Linked DNA regions of Homo sapiens: all the other regions are linked to region 1. The links are contacts of gene promoters, found by promoter capture Hi-C in human tissues and cell types (Jung and others, 2019). All regions are on one chromosome and are shown on one strand. The core of a region is centred on a gene start or on the middle of the fragment in contact, and the rest is flanking DNA. Distances in the headings are between cores, read along the strand shown. Region 1 holds the start of CTBP1 (C-terminal binding protein 1). Region 2 holds the start of ZNF141 (zinc finger protein 141). Region 3 overlaps NSD2 (nuclear receptor binding SET domain protein 2).

Region 1 (4,063 bases), core at 1-2,500:
CCTCACCCTCCCCAAAGCTCTGGTGACACCTGCCAGGTTTCCTCCAGGCCACAGCTCGGCAGCCCGATCTTAGAACAGAACGTGGCACGCAGGGCAGGTCTGGCTGAGGGCCCAGCATTGTCAGCGGGGTTGGAGGTCTTCCCGGGCCTCGAAGGGGAGACGTAGGCTTCTCAGGGCAGCCCAGGACGCGTCCTCACGAACCACAGCGAAATTACAGCAGGTATCTCGCGGATAGGAGTCTGCATCATTCCGTCTCCATGCCGTGGTTTCTGAAATTATGCAACTATCTCGGCATTCCAGAGGGCTCAGAGTAGCCACGCGCAGAGGCCCTCCCCATGGGGTGGATGGAAGCGTCCACTCGCGGCGCGAGGAATATCCCTGGGCCCCTCGGGAGAGTCTGCAGGGGCAGCCCCTGGGTGAGCAGGCCCAGTGCGGCCTCTCCCTGAAGGGACTTTCGGGCCCTCCCGGGTCGGGGCTTCACCGGTAGCAGGCAGGGCTTTGATATTAATGCTTAAAGGGAAAGCAGAGCTGAGCTGTCAGGACGTTGGTTAGCTACAAACCCTACTCTTGTTAAAAGAGAAATGGGGTCGGGGAAGGGGTTCTCCAGCCCTGAACTTCCCGGGCCGGGCAGGACGCGGTCCCTCCAGGAGTCGGGGCTCCCCCGCCTGGGGACGCACTGGGGCAGGCGCGCTTCTCCTCTCGGGGTCCCATGTGCCGCCGGCTCTCGGACGGTAAATCAGGGCTCGGGTGGGGGCGATGGGGGGCCCGCGGCCTCGGTGCCCCTGGCCAGCCTCGGAGGCGCACGGGCCAGGCCGCGGGGCGAGAAGCGAGCGCGGGAGGGCGGCAGCTGGCGGAGCGGGAAGGGAGCGGGGCGGCTGCGGCTGCGGCGCGGAGGAGCGCCATTTACGTTCGGGCCCGCGCCAGGCGCTGACGTGGGCGGCCCTGTCTCGGCTTCCGGGCCCGCAGGGTCCTCGGGGCGGACGGCGCTCCCGCCAGCGGCGCTGAGTCCGGCCCGACCCTGCCCGACTTCCTCGGGGACAGGCGGTTTAGAACGTGCGGAACACCAGGCCCGGGGCCTCCGCCGGGCTGCAGCCCCGCGAGCTTCCCGCCAGGCTCCCGCCCCGCCCCGCCCCGCAGCCGCGTCCCGGCCGGGCGGGCCCTGAGCCGCCCGCGTGAGTCCGTGCGCCGCCCGCGCTGGGAACCAGGAGACCAACCGCGAGGCCCCGCCCGCGCGCGCCGCCGTGTCCCCGCCCGCGCGGTCGTCGGAGCGCGGCTCAGCGGCGCGGCGGAGACTCGGCACGGCGGCGGCCAGGCGCAGGCGGGCGGGCGGAGCAGCGGACGGCGCCGAGGCCGCCCCACGCGCCGGGCTCGCGGCGGCGCAGCGCGCCGGAGTGGTCGGGGCCCGCGGCCGCTCGCGCCTCTCGATGGGCAGCTCGCACTTGCTCAACAAGGGCCTGCCGCTTGGTAAGGCCGCGCGCGCGCGCGTTTCCGGCCGCGGGCGGGGGCGGGGCGGGGCGGGTGCCGCGCGGGCGGGGGGCGCGGGGGCGGACCGAGCGCGCGCCCGCGGGCCGCCGGCTTTGTGTGCGAGTGCGCGTGCGCGCCGGCGTCCGCGCGTGGCCGCGGTCGGGGGCGGGACCGCGGGAAGGGTCTTGCGCATGCGCGGGCCGCTGCGTGTGCGCGAGCGCCGCAGTCTGCTCTCCCCGCCCGCGGCCCGTGCAGGTGACACAAAAGGGCCTGTGGGCCTCTGGGCTGCCCCGCCGGACCCCCAGCTCCACCGACCCCAGCCCCGTCGGACCCGGGACGGCACCCCGGGTCCCGATCCCCGGCCGCTACCCCGTCCCCGGTCATGACCCCGTGGCTGGGCCTGCGGGGCCGGGATGGGGCGGGAGCCGTGCGCAGCTCGGGGTGTCCTGGGGCGCGCGCTCCCGGGCCACTCGCGGGAGCGCGCCTCCCGCGGGGAGGCCGCCGGCGACCGTGGCCGCGCGCTGTGGGGGAAGGGGACGGGGCGCGGGTGCCGGGTATGACCGTGGAGGAGGCCGCTGCCCTCAGACCGGGCCCAAAGCGCAGCCCCCGGCGGTGACGCGGGAGGGCCCGGGGTCTCCGTTCCCGCGAACTCCGCGAGGTCCCGGACCGGCCCAGCGCCCCCACCTGCCCTTGCCTGGGCCCGCCCAGGTCCCGGGGCGCCTTCCTCGCGGGCTGCGGCCGCGGAAGCAGGGAGCACGGGCGGGCGCCGGGCTTGCCACCATCGCCATCTTGCAGCGCCCGCGTCCTGGGCCGGCCCGAGCCGCTGCGCGGAGCCTCTCTTTCCCTCGACCCGGCTGCAAAGGCAGAGTCCGTGCGCCTGAGCCCCGGGCCGAGACTGGAGCGTTCTCTGGCGGCCTCCAAGGGCGCCGGTGTCTGGAAGCCCGGCCTGGGCCAGATCCCTTTTGCTGTCGTCTCCGTGATTGCCGGGACAGAATTCCCTTCCAGTGGGGAAAAGGGAAGGCGGTCGCGCCCTTCCCGGTGCCCTGAGTGGGGAGGTGAAACCCTGAGAGTTGGGGCAAGAGGGCCTGGAGCTAGGGCCGAGGCGGCGGGTGCGCAGGGTGTTCCGTTGAGCCCGAGCCCCCCCCCCCTCCCCGGCCTCTCCACCGTTTCTGTAGGAGCGCGGCAGGGAGCACACGTCCCTCGGGAAGAAAACGGCGCTGGCGGCTGGGCCCGCACCGCGGCCGTCCTCGCTGAGCTCCTAGCGCGTGGCCTTTGCGCGTCTGTGTACCCGTCTGCAGCTTGGGGCAGGGTTGGGGGAGAACCGTGGGGTAACTATTTGCCGTTGCAGCTGAGGATGACAGCTGCGGTTTGGGGGTCCCCCTTTCTGTGTCCTGGAACTTTGTAGGGCGTGGCTCTGCCCTGGGCCTCAGCACCCGGCCTCCCAGGTCTCCCCTGCCTGCCCGGGCCTGGCCACCTCCCTCTGGGGTCTGGGTTTGGCTCCTGGTTGGGGCTGTCGGCTCCGCAGACGCCTTTTGCTCTCTGTGATTCTGTTGCCCATCTTTGAGCACCTGCTTCCATACAGGCGTCCTCTGCAGAGCTCTGGGAGGGACACGCACTGGGGGTGGCATCTGGTCACTCCTGGGGGTGCCTCGTCCGCCTGCCCGGCCATTTTTGGGGTGTCTGCCATGTCCCCAACATGCACTTCTTCCTGTCAGCCTTGACCAGGGCAGCTGTTAGTTCTGAGAGGTGGGCGTGTGGTTGGGGATGTCAGCGAGTAGGATCTTCCCTTTTACTCGCTTGTCATTAACCTGAGAACGTGGCAGTGGGGGAGGAGAGGCTTGGCCCGGGGTGCACAGGACTGTGGGCTGGTCCTGTCCCTCTGATGAGTGGGACGAGCCTTGGTCCAGTCCTGTGGGCTTGGCGCAGAGCCGGCCCCCTGCCATGTCCTGGTGGGATTGGAAGTGCTGGCTCGTCCTGTCTGCCTCCCCCAAGGGCTGGGAGCCCCCCACTCTTTGGACATTTGTAGTGTAAGCAGACAGCAACTGTTAACCATCATTCTGTTAATAAATTTTTTCTGGAGGAACCCTGGACAGAAGTAGTCATGCTCTCCAGGAAACGGGCCCCAGGCTCGAGAGGCCCAGTCTCTTCCCTCGGGGCTTAGAGGTGGCCGTCAAGCCACACCTGGTTCCCCACCAGCCTGGCAGTTTTTCTGGTTTTTCTCCTCTGACTGTCACTTGCCCTCTCAACTTCCTGCGGCCAGTACCCCCAGAATGTGACCTGGTCTGAGCTGACGGTGGTGTCACTGAGCCAAGAGGCGTGTGGCTGGCACCACTAGTGTTGCTGAGAACTCTTCAGGCAGCACTTTGTGCCCGGCTGTGCCCTGGTGCTCCCCATGCAGTGCCCAAGTCAAAGGTGTGTGCCCTGTGAGGTGTTTACCCCGGTTGACTCTCCTTGTAGAAGGACTTAATGTTTCCCACTCCACTGGGGGCTGGAGAGGGCTCCATCCAGGTGGTGCTGACGGTGCAGGCCTGGCCCAGGGCCCAGGGGTGGCCAGGAGGTGGTAGAGGCAGCAGGCAGTGTCATACGGGTTCTGTGGTTG
Region 2 (4,063 bases), core at 988-3,487, 910 kb after region 1:
ACAGGCAGTCTACTAAGAGACTGCCAAAACAAAGAAAGTCACCATAATTAGCTCTCAAGTAGAAGACTTGACAGTACCATGTATCATACATAGTTTATTACACTTTCACCTAGTAATTTGGGAGGTCATCCGGGTTTCCTAATTGGTAATATTCAAAGGGAAAATAAACTTCCCACAGCTTCAGGACAGGAGGTAGATTTGATATGTGAAGGCAGGTACCTGCTGAAGGCAGCCTCCTACTCTGCTACAGAAATTGCGGAATAGGTTATATATTCTTGCTATGCACATTTCAAAGCAATAGTTTCCATGTCCTAAAGACAATTTTGAGTCAAAAAAGACAAATCACCTAGTTAACAGATTAAAATGAGTTATATATATTTCAAAGAAGCAGAGAAAATATTTAAATATAAAAGTTTTCAAACTAAATGCTTTAAGGGAGAAGAGTAAAAATTCTTTCCTCATTCTAAAGAGAAAGCATTAAGCCTCTTCTGATTTGTATTTGGTCCTACAACAGGCAGGTCTAAAGGCATGGTCTTGAACTCACTAACGTTGAATTCTTGTAGCACATGAGGGATGCACTTGAGCAAACTGTGTGCACAGGAAAGAGGATTTGTGGGGAAGAAAAGAGCAGAAGAAAGGTGCTATCAAGAGCCTTGAGTGGGGGCAAGGCAGGATTGACGAAAGGACTGGTTTGTGCTACAAGTTCAGGCCCAGGCAGGGCTAAGCTCTAACTGATTCCTGAGCCCATAAAGGCAGAGGAGATTAGGATCAGGTGGTCCAAAAGCCTGGGTGGGTGAAGAAAACAGATTCCTGCTACAGATCTGGGGTTAAAATGAACCAGGAGTCTTCTGGGCACTGTGTGTGTTCTTGGGAGAAAAACCTAGGAGCAAAGCTGCCATGGGCACAATTCCTGAGGGTAGAACCCTGTCCTGGGACAAGTGTGGCCGTGCGAATGCCCAATGGGCGGGCTCAGGAGTGGGTTAGCATTGGGTGGGGGCTGGCAGCAGGGTGCAGGGAAGGGATGTTTCTCAGAACTCCTTTCCTCCAAGTTCTCAGCGCCCTCTCTCCCCGGGAGGAGACCTGGAGGAACAGAACAGTGCGCAGCAGGACAGTGCATGTGCAGAACCCGGCTGGTCTCCCGCGGACACCTGCGACTCCCTCCAGCCCAGGCTCAGCCATGTCTTTCTTCTGACAGGAAACGTGAGGAGTTTGCTCAACACCAGTCAATGCTCCGACCCCAACGGGCTGTCCAACAACTCACTAACGACACCACCCGGAGTCAGCACAGACCCCACAAGCTCAGCGCTCTTCCCGCAGCTGCCCCCCTGCAGACGCCAGTCCCTGCCTCTGGACACCCGTCTTCATTTCTGAACACCTGTCTACAAACCAGGGGCCCACACCCTCCTCAAGTTCAATAATATGACAGAACTACTCACAGAACTCAGCGAAGCGCTGTGCGCGCCCACACTAGCGTATTCTAAAAGATGCCACTCAGGAACAGCCACGCGGAGGAGGCGCACAGGGCAAGGAGACTGGTGGGCAAGTTGGAGCGGGCGGGTGATTTGCTTCGCTTCCTCACACACCTCACAAAAGCTTTTCCTTCAAGACCCGCTGGCAGCCCCCAAACCACGAGCCACGGCCGGCGCTGTCCCATTAATGAGTCCCCATTTGCTCACATGAACTCTGTTTTGATGGGGCCTCGATCTCATTCCGAACAGGGTAAAGCAGGGACGGGATCCCCAGACCACAGCTTCTCCCACAGCTCCTCCCACGCCGGCATCGCGCACGCCGCGCGGGCGGCTTCCAGATAAGCTACTCCTCACCCCACAGCCTGGGGAAGGTGCGGGGCTGCGGGCGCAGAGCTGCACAAGGAGGGCTGCAGGCTGGGCCAGAGCCGCTGTGCGGGGACCGACAGGAGCCCAGGTCCCTCACCGGAGGGTACTGAGGCCCCAGGGCTGAGCGGCGGCAGCGGGGACTCCGTTCGCAGACTCGGTCCCGCCGCCATTTCCCGCCAGCTCCGATGAGACCTCCTCAGCCTTGGGACGCCCTGCCCCGCACACTCACCATTTCCCCACTTCTGAAGTATTCGGGAGTCTTAGCTACCAATCATCCAATACCCGCAGGTCACAGAGCGACGGAGGCTGAGCTGTGGCCGAATCACCAAGGCCTCCCACAACTGAGAACGCAGAGAGATGAAGCCCCTAACCCGCGGTCTGGTAGTAGCCAGACGCAAAGACCCGCGCCACATCCCGGAAGCCACCGCCTCCTCTCTGGCTGCGTGCCTGATTGGGCAGTTTTCACTCCAGTGCGCTGATTGGATACGGCTCCAATCTCCCCGCCATCAGACCTTGAGTGACAGAAGTTGCAACCACATACTCCACGGAATGTGGCGAGAGTGACAGCCGGGGGGCCTCCAGGCAGTTTCAGGCGGGGCTTTCTCTTCGTGCTTGGCCTGGCACAGCCCAGGGGTCATTTTTTAACCTTGTGATGTGTAAGGTGACGTCCATTTAGAAATTATACACGCACGCACACACACAGACATATACGCGCGCGCGCACACACAGACGCGCGCACGTACGCAGTCTCACATAAACATACAAAAGTCACAGACACACACACACACACACGCACGCACCCACGCACGCACAGCCCATCCTTCCTCCAAGGCTCGCGAATCATCTCTCCACAAATCCTGCCTTCGGGGCCGCAGCCTGCAGGCCGACCTCAGTCCGTCCTCACAGAGCCTAGTTGGGTGCACAGCTCTCCCTGACGCGCGAGGAGCAGGTTCACGGGAGTCGGTCGCGCATCCCCAGCGCCCTGCGGGCCTCGCACCGGCTGTGGCGGTGACCCCGGTGAGGAGGGCTTTGGTGCGGGTCACCGTTGCTGAGGACACCCTCCTCCCCCGGAAGCGCGGTCCTGGGGGTCTGGGGGGCGGGTCCCTGACCGCTGTAAACAATAGGTCGGTGGTGTCCACGCAGCAGGCAGCAAATTCTCAGGAAGTGAGCGTCCCGTCTTTGGCTTCACCTTCGTGTCTGTAGAATGGGGGTGAGGGGACTCAGGACTCGGAGCGCTGTCGGGCGGGGCGAGGTGGGCTGAGAGTGTGTCTCCCTCCCCAAGCTCACCCGGAGCTGTGCGGGGCGGGACCGCCCCAGGACCCTCGGTTCCCAGGAGCTCCTGGGGGCCCCGCCGCCCCCACCCCAGGCCGCGCTGCGCAGCCCCAGTCCCCGCCGGCCCCACCGCGCGGTCGCTTTGAGGTCGGCCGGGGTCTGCCCGGCGATGGCGACGCTGCAGCCGCTGGAGCCGGGGCCACCGGGGATCTCGGCGGGACCTGGCGGCAGCGAGGACGCGGACCCTGGAGAGATGGGAGGGGCGCGCCCCGAGCCCGAGCCCCACCCGGACCCGGCTGCCGTCGGCCTAGCCAGGGCCGGGGCGGACACCGTCGAGGACGAAGCCGGGCCCGCGCCCCTGGGCGACCCGTTGAGCCGCGGAGCCCCGCGGGGTGGAGCCGGGCCAGGCCCATCCGCTCCGGGCGCGGGCAGCTGGCGTCGCGGGTGGGTCAGAACCCAGGACACGCCCAGGAGTCCGACCTCATGGCGCTGCAGGGCCTGGGGAGTGGGGGCTGGGGACAGCGCCAGGGCCAACCCGACGCCAGCACCCCCGGCAGACCCCAGGAGCCGCCTGTGAAGAGACTGGATAGGTGCATTAAGCGATCAGAAAAGTCACTGGCTGGCCCTGTTGATGAGCAGAACGCTTTCAGAGAAGTGTATGCTCACGCAGTGCTTGGACAGCATTCGCGTAGTTTGACACTTGTCTGCTTGGGCGGATAGATGCTCACACACATAAGTTTGTTTTGTAGTTATGCAGGATTGCACTGTGGCTAAGTACACAGACTCTGGGTGCACATCCCAGCTGCTCTGCTATTTCCAGCTGTGTGACCATGGGGAAGTTACTTGCCTGTGCTCAGTGTCCTCTGTAAAGTGAAGATAGCAGTACCTGCCTCATGGAGTCCCTTAAGTGAGTTAATAGTGTAACATGTTATGGCGTCATGCACACAGTCACCATC
Region 3 (4,063 bases), core at 1,022-3,521, 670 kb before region 1:
CCACGCCACTGCACTCTAGCCTGGGGTGACAGAGCAAGACCCTGTCTCAAAAAAAAAAAAAAAAAAAAGAATACTTTTACATTTTCACATAATTTTAGAAATAAAAAACTTGGCCAGCGTGGTGGTTCCCACCTGTAATCCCAGCACCTGTGGAGGCTGAGGCAGACACATCACCTGAGGTCAGGAGTCCAAGACCAGTCTGGCCAACCTGGTGAAACCCTGTCTCCACTAAAAATACAAAAATTAGCCAGGCGTGGTGGCAGGCACCTGTAATTCCAGCTACTTGGGAGGCTGAGGCAGGAGAATCGCTTGAACCCGGAGGGGCAGAGGATGCAATGAGCCAAGATCATGCCATTACACTCCAGCCTGGGCGACAAGAGTGAAACTCCATCTCAAAAAAATTTTAAAAAATAATAGAAATAAAAACTTTTAAAAACCAATTTTAGAATTCAGCCCAACATAATACCTTTATTGTTTCTTTAAACCAGAAATCAATTCCTATCACATTACATTAATCCCTCTGTCTGTGTGTGTGTATACACATATATACGTACATATATGTGTATATATAAATTCTAAAACAAGTTATCTCTGAGAGTCATCAAATGAGCAAAAAAAAATCAGTTGTGTCTCTAAAAGAACTTTATCATATTGTAACATGGCATCCTTGGGCAAAAGTCAACAATGAAAGAGATTGTTAAGCCATTACAATATTTCGAGCAAGTATAAGTTCAAAACAAAAATAAGTTAACTTAAAGAATAAAAATTAAATTTCTGGTCTAAAAGTAGACTGAAGGGTCATCTATCACCTTAATTTTCTCAGCTTTCGTGGGTGCCTGCTTGGCACTTTCCTGGCATAATTTTTCAAACTGTCCTTCTCCTTCAAAAGCTACGAGGCTCTTCTCAAATATCCAAGCTCTTTCTGGGGCGTCACCAAAGAACTGTACGTGATACTGGCGTGCACTCTTTTTCTGACCTAGTTTTTAAAATAAAATGTTAGAGAATGAAAGTTAGAATCTGGGATGAAACTAGTCAAATCTACTGCTATTTTGCAGTTGTTTCCCTTGGTGTTGTCTGAGCCTGTTAACCTCAAAACAAATTCTATACTTCTTATCCCTTCCATGCCACATGCCAAAGAGGGAAACTAATTAACTTACAAGAGACTCAGATAAGGTTCAAAATTGAATGGGAAAGAAAGCCAACCAGGCCAGGCGCAGTCCCTCACGCCTGTAATCCCACCACTTTGGGAGGCCGAGGCAGGGAGATTGAGCTCAGGATTTCGAGACCAGCCTGGGCAACATGGCAAAAGCCCATCTCTACGAAAAATGCAAAAATTAGCCGGGTGTGGTGGTGTGCACCTGTAGTCCCAGCTACTCTGGAGGCTGAGGTGAGAGGATGGCGTGAGCCTGGGAGGCACATGTTGCAGTGAGCCAAGATCATACCACTGCTCTCCAGCCTGGGTGACAGAGCTAGACCCTGTCTCAAAAACAAAAAAAGAAAGGAAAAAAAAGAAAAAGAAAAAAGCTAGCTAGCTGACTAAATGCACTCCTTTATTCCCTCTTAAAAAGATACCAAATAAGACAAGAGGACATGTGCAAGAAAGGAGTGAGAGAGGCAGTGAAGGAGGCAGTATACGGACATCACACAACCTGGGTTCAAATCCCAGCCCTGCTACCTACCAGCTAGCTACCCCCCTATCTCACAGTGCTAGAGTGACAGGAGCATCAGTGGCCTCAGAGAGCAGCTCAGACCACAGAGTAACCCCACAGATGCCCACTAGTCTTACTCTTAGCTGAGAGGAAGAAGCCACGTCCCACAGTGCAGCCAGGGGGATGAGGAAAGAAAGAGACGGGCCCAAAATAAAAGAAAGGAGGTACCAGATTCCACTGAAGTCAAATGAGAAGGTGAATACAGGTAAGCAGGTTAAAAGGTCAGATCTCTGTGCCAGGTGAGAGGAGGGAGGGGGATCTCCCTGGCACAGGGTGGGGGCAGTTACCACTCCCTGTCCCCTCATGCAGAACACTGGCCCAGATGAATCAAAGGATATTTCCTGAAGACCTGAAGTGCTCCAGAGGAAAAACCTCTCCAGTGAGTCTTCTGGAGATTCCCCCAATTAAGTGGTCAATGGCCAATCAGACCCTCTAATGCAAAGGAGGGTGGATAACCAAGCCTCCCCACCCATGGTTGCAGGCAGCTCTAAGTGTCGTGCTCTTAAACACGAGCCCAGCACCAAGGAACCCCTGGACCCAGGGAAGCATCCAGTATGAATGAATCCAAAACACACAGAAATGAATGGCCCTCTGCAGGGCCACAGACATAAGGCAAGGGAAGAGAAGATACCCAACAGAGAAACCCTGTGTGCTATGAAAAGAGAACACAGAAAAACAAAGAGATATTTGAAATTCTAAAATACAACTATGAAAATAAAATTCAGGCCGGGTGCAGTGGCTCAAGCCTGTAATCCCAGCACTTTGGGAGGCCGAGGCAGGCGGACCACGAGGTCAGGAAATCGAGACCATCCTGGCTAACACGGTGAAATCCCATTTCTACTAAATATACAAAAATTAGCCAGGCATGGTGGTGGGCGCCTGTAGCCTCAGCTACACAGGAGGCTGAGGCAGGAGAATGGTGTGAACCCAGGAGGCGGAGCTTGCAGTGAGCCGAGACTGCGCCACTGCACTCCAGCCTGGGCAACAGAGCCAGACTCCGTCTCAAAAAAAAAAAAAAAAAAAAAAGAGAAAAAAAGAAAAAATTCAACAAGAAAGCTTGGAAGATAAGAAATCTCCCAGAAAGAAGAAAAAAATTAAGATGAAAAATACCTATTTCCATAGCAACCTGTAAGATCAATCTAGGAGGTTTGATACCCAAATAATAGGCTTTCTGGAGAAACAGAGAAGCTCCAAGAATAAACCCAAAATCAAGTCTCCAACTAAAACAGTCCTAAGTGTCCCACTGCAACATCCACAGCAGGGCACACCCTGCTGAAATTCAAGCTGCTGGGGGTTGGGTGAAAGGCCAGCCTCCAAGTTAATGGAACAAGAAATAGAATAGCAAGGTATGTGAAGAATAGCAAATTATGTGAAGAATGGCCAAAAACTCTGGATGCTAGAAGGAAATGGAGTAATACCTTCAAAATTCCTAGGGGAATTCTTCTCAACATAAAATTCTACACCCAGTCAAACCATCAATCAAGTGTGAAGATAGAAAAGTAGCATACTCTGGGCCAGGCACAGTGGCTCACGCCTGTAATCCCAGCACTTCGGGAGGCCAAGGTGGGCAGATCACCTCAGATCAAGAGTTCGAGACCAGCCTGGCCAACATGGTGAAGCCCTGTCTCTACTAAAACACAAAAAATTAGTCAGGCATGGTGGCGTGTGCCCGTAGTCCCAGCTACTCAGGAGGCTGAGGCGGGAGAATCACTTGAACCCAGGAGGTGGAGACTGCAATAAGCCAAGATCGTGCCACCGCACTCCAGCCTGGCAACAGAGCAAGGCTCCATCTCAAAAAAAAAGTAGCATACTCTGGGCTGGGTGCAGTGGCTCACACATGTAATCTCAGCACTTTAGGAGGCCAAGGCGGGTAGAATACTTGAGGTCAGAAGTTCGAGACCAGCCTGGCCGACATAGCAAAACCCCATCTCTACTAAAAATACAAAAATGAGCTGGGCACGGTGGCACACACCTGTAGTCCCAGCTACTCGGGAGGCTGAGGCACGAGAATCACTTGAACCCAAGTGGCAGAGGTTGCAGCAAGCTGAGATCCCGCCACTGAACTCTAGCCTGGGCGACAAAGCAAGACTCCACCTCACAAAAACAAAAGTAGCATACTCTGAACTGCAAGGACTCAAATTTACTTCCCATACAAACTGTCTTAAGATACCAAAAATAGCCTCCAGGAAAAAAGAAAACTTAACCAAGAAAGAACACAGCATAGAACTGTAGGGATCAGCCCTACAGGGCCTGTGGGTTTTTCTCCTCGTGTGTGGAGACGAGAGATGGTAGAAATAAAGACACAAGACAAAGAGATTGAAGAAAAGACAGCTGGGCACAGGGGACACCACTAC

Evidence for each region. Contacts are between HindIII fragments. The study calls those that stand out against the background at their distance.
Region 2: the fragment with the promoter of ZNF141 here is called in contact with the fragment with the promoter of CTBP1 in region 1 in 1 of the 25 tissues and cell types used here (lymphoblastoid cells).
Region 3: a contact is called between a fragment that was not itself captured here and the fragment with the promoter of CTBP1 in region 1, in 1 of the 25 tissues and cell types used here (dorsolateral prefrontal cortex).

The regions. Positions count from the first base shown.
Region 1 is chr4:1,246,317-1,250,379 of GRCh38, reverse strand. CTBP1 (C-terminal binding protein 1) reads left to right here and starts at 1,250. Exons shown (of 10, transcript NM_001012614.2): 1 at 1,250-1,464. It overlaps CTBP1-DT (CTBP1 divergent transcript), which reads right to left and starts at 940. Exons shown (of 2, transcript NR_033339.1): 1 at 908-940; 2 at 1-269. RefSeq lists enhancers at 1-61, 122-171 and silencers at 542-1,471, 1,642-2,361. The HindIII fragment of the contact is 11,440 bases long and covers 1-4,063 here.
Region 2 is chr4:335,988-340,050 of GRCh38, reverse strand. ZNF141 (zinc finger protein 141) reads right to left here and starts at 2,237. Exons shown (of 4, transcript NM_003441.4): 1 at 2,065-2,237. The coding sequence starts at 2,067. RefSeq lists enhancers at 2,388-2,487, 1,532-2,492, 2,598-3,113 and silencers at 3,128-3,237, 3,468-3,527. The HindIII fragment of the contact is 20,671 bases long and covers 325-4,063 here.
Region 3 is chr4:1,913,784-1,917,846 of GRCh38, reverse strand. It overlaps NSD2 (nuclear receptor binding SET domain protein 2), which reads right to left. Exons shown (of 22, transcript NM_001042424.3): 4 at 810-976. Among named protein-coding and RNA genes, the nearest start is that of NSD2, 44 kb to the right of the region's middle. The HindIII fragment of the contact is 3,229 bases long and covers 657-3,885 here.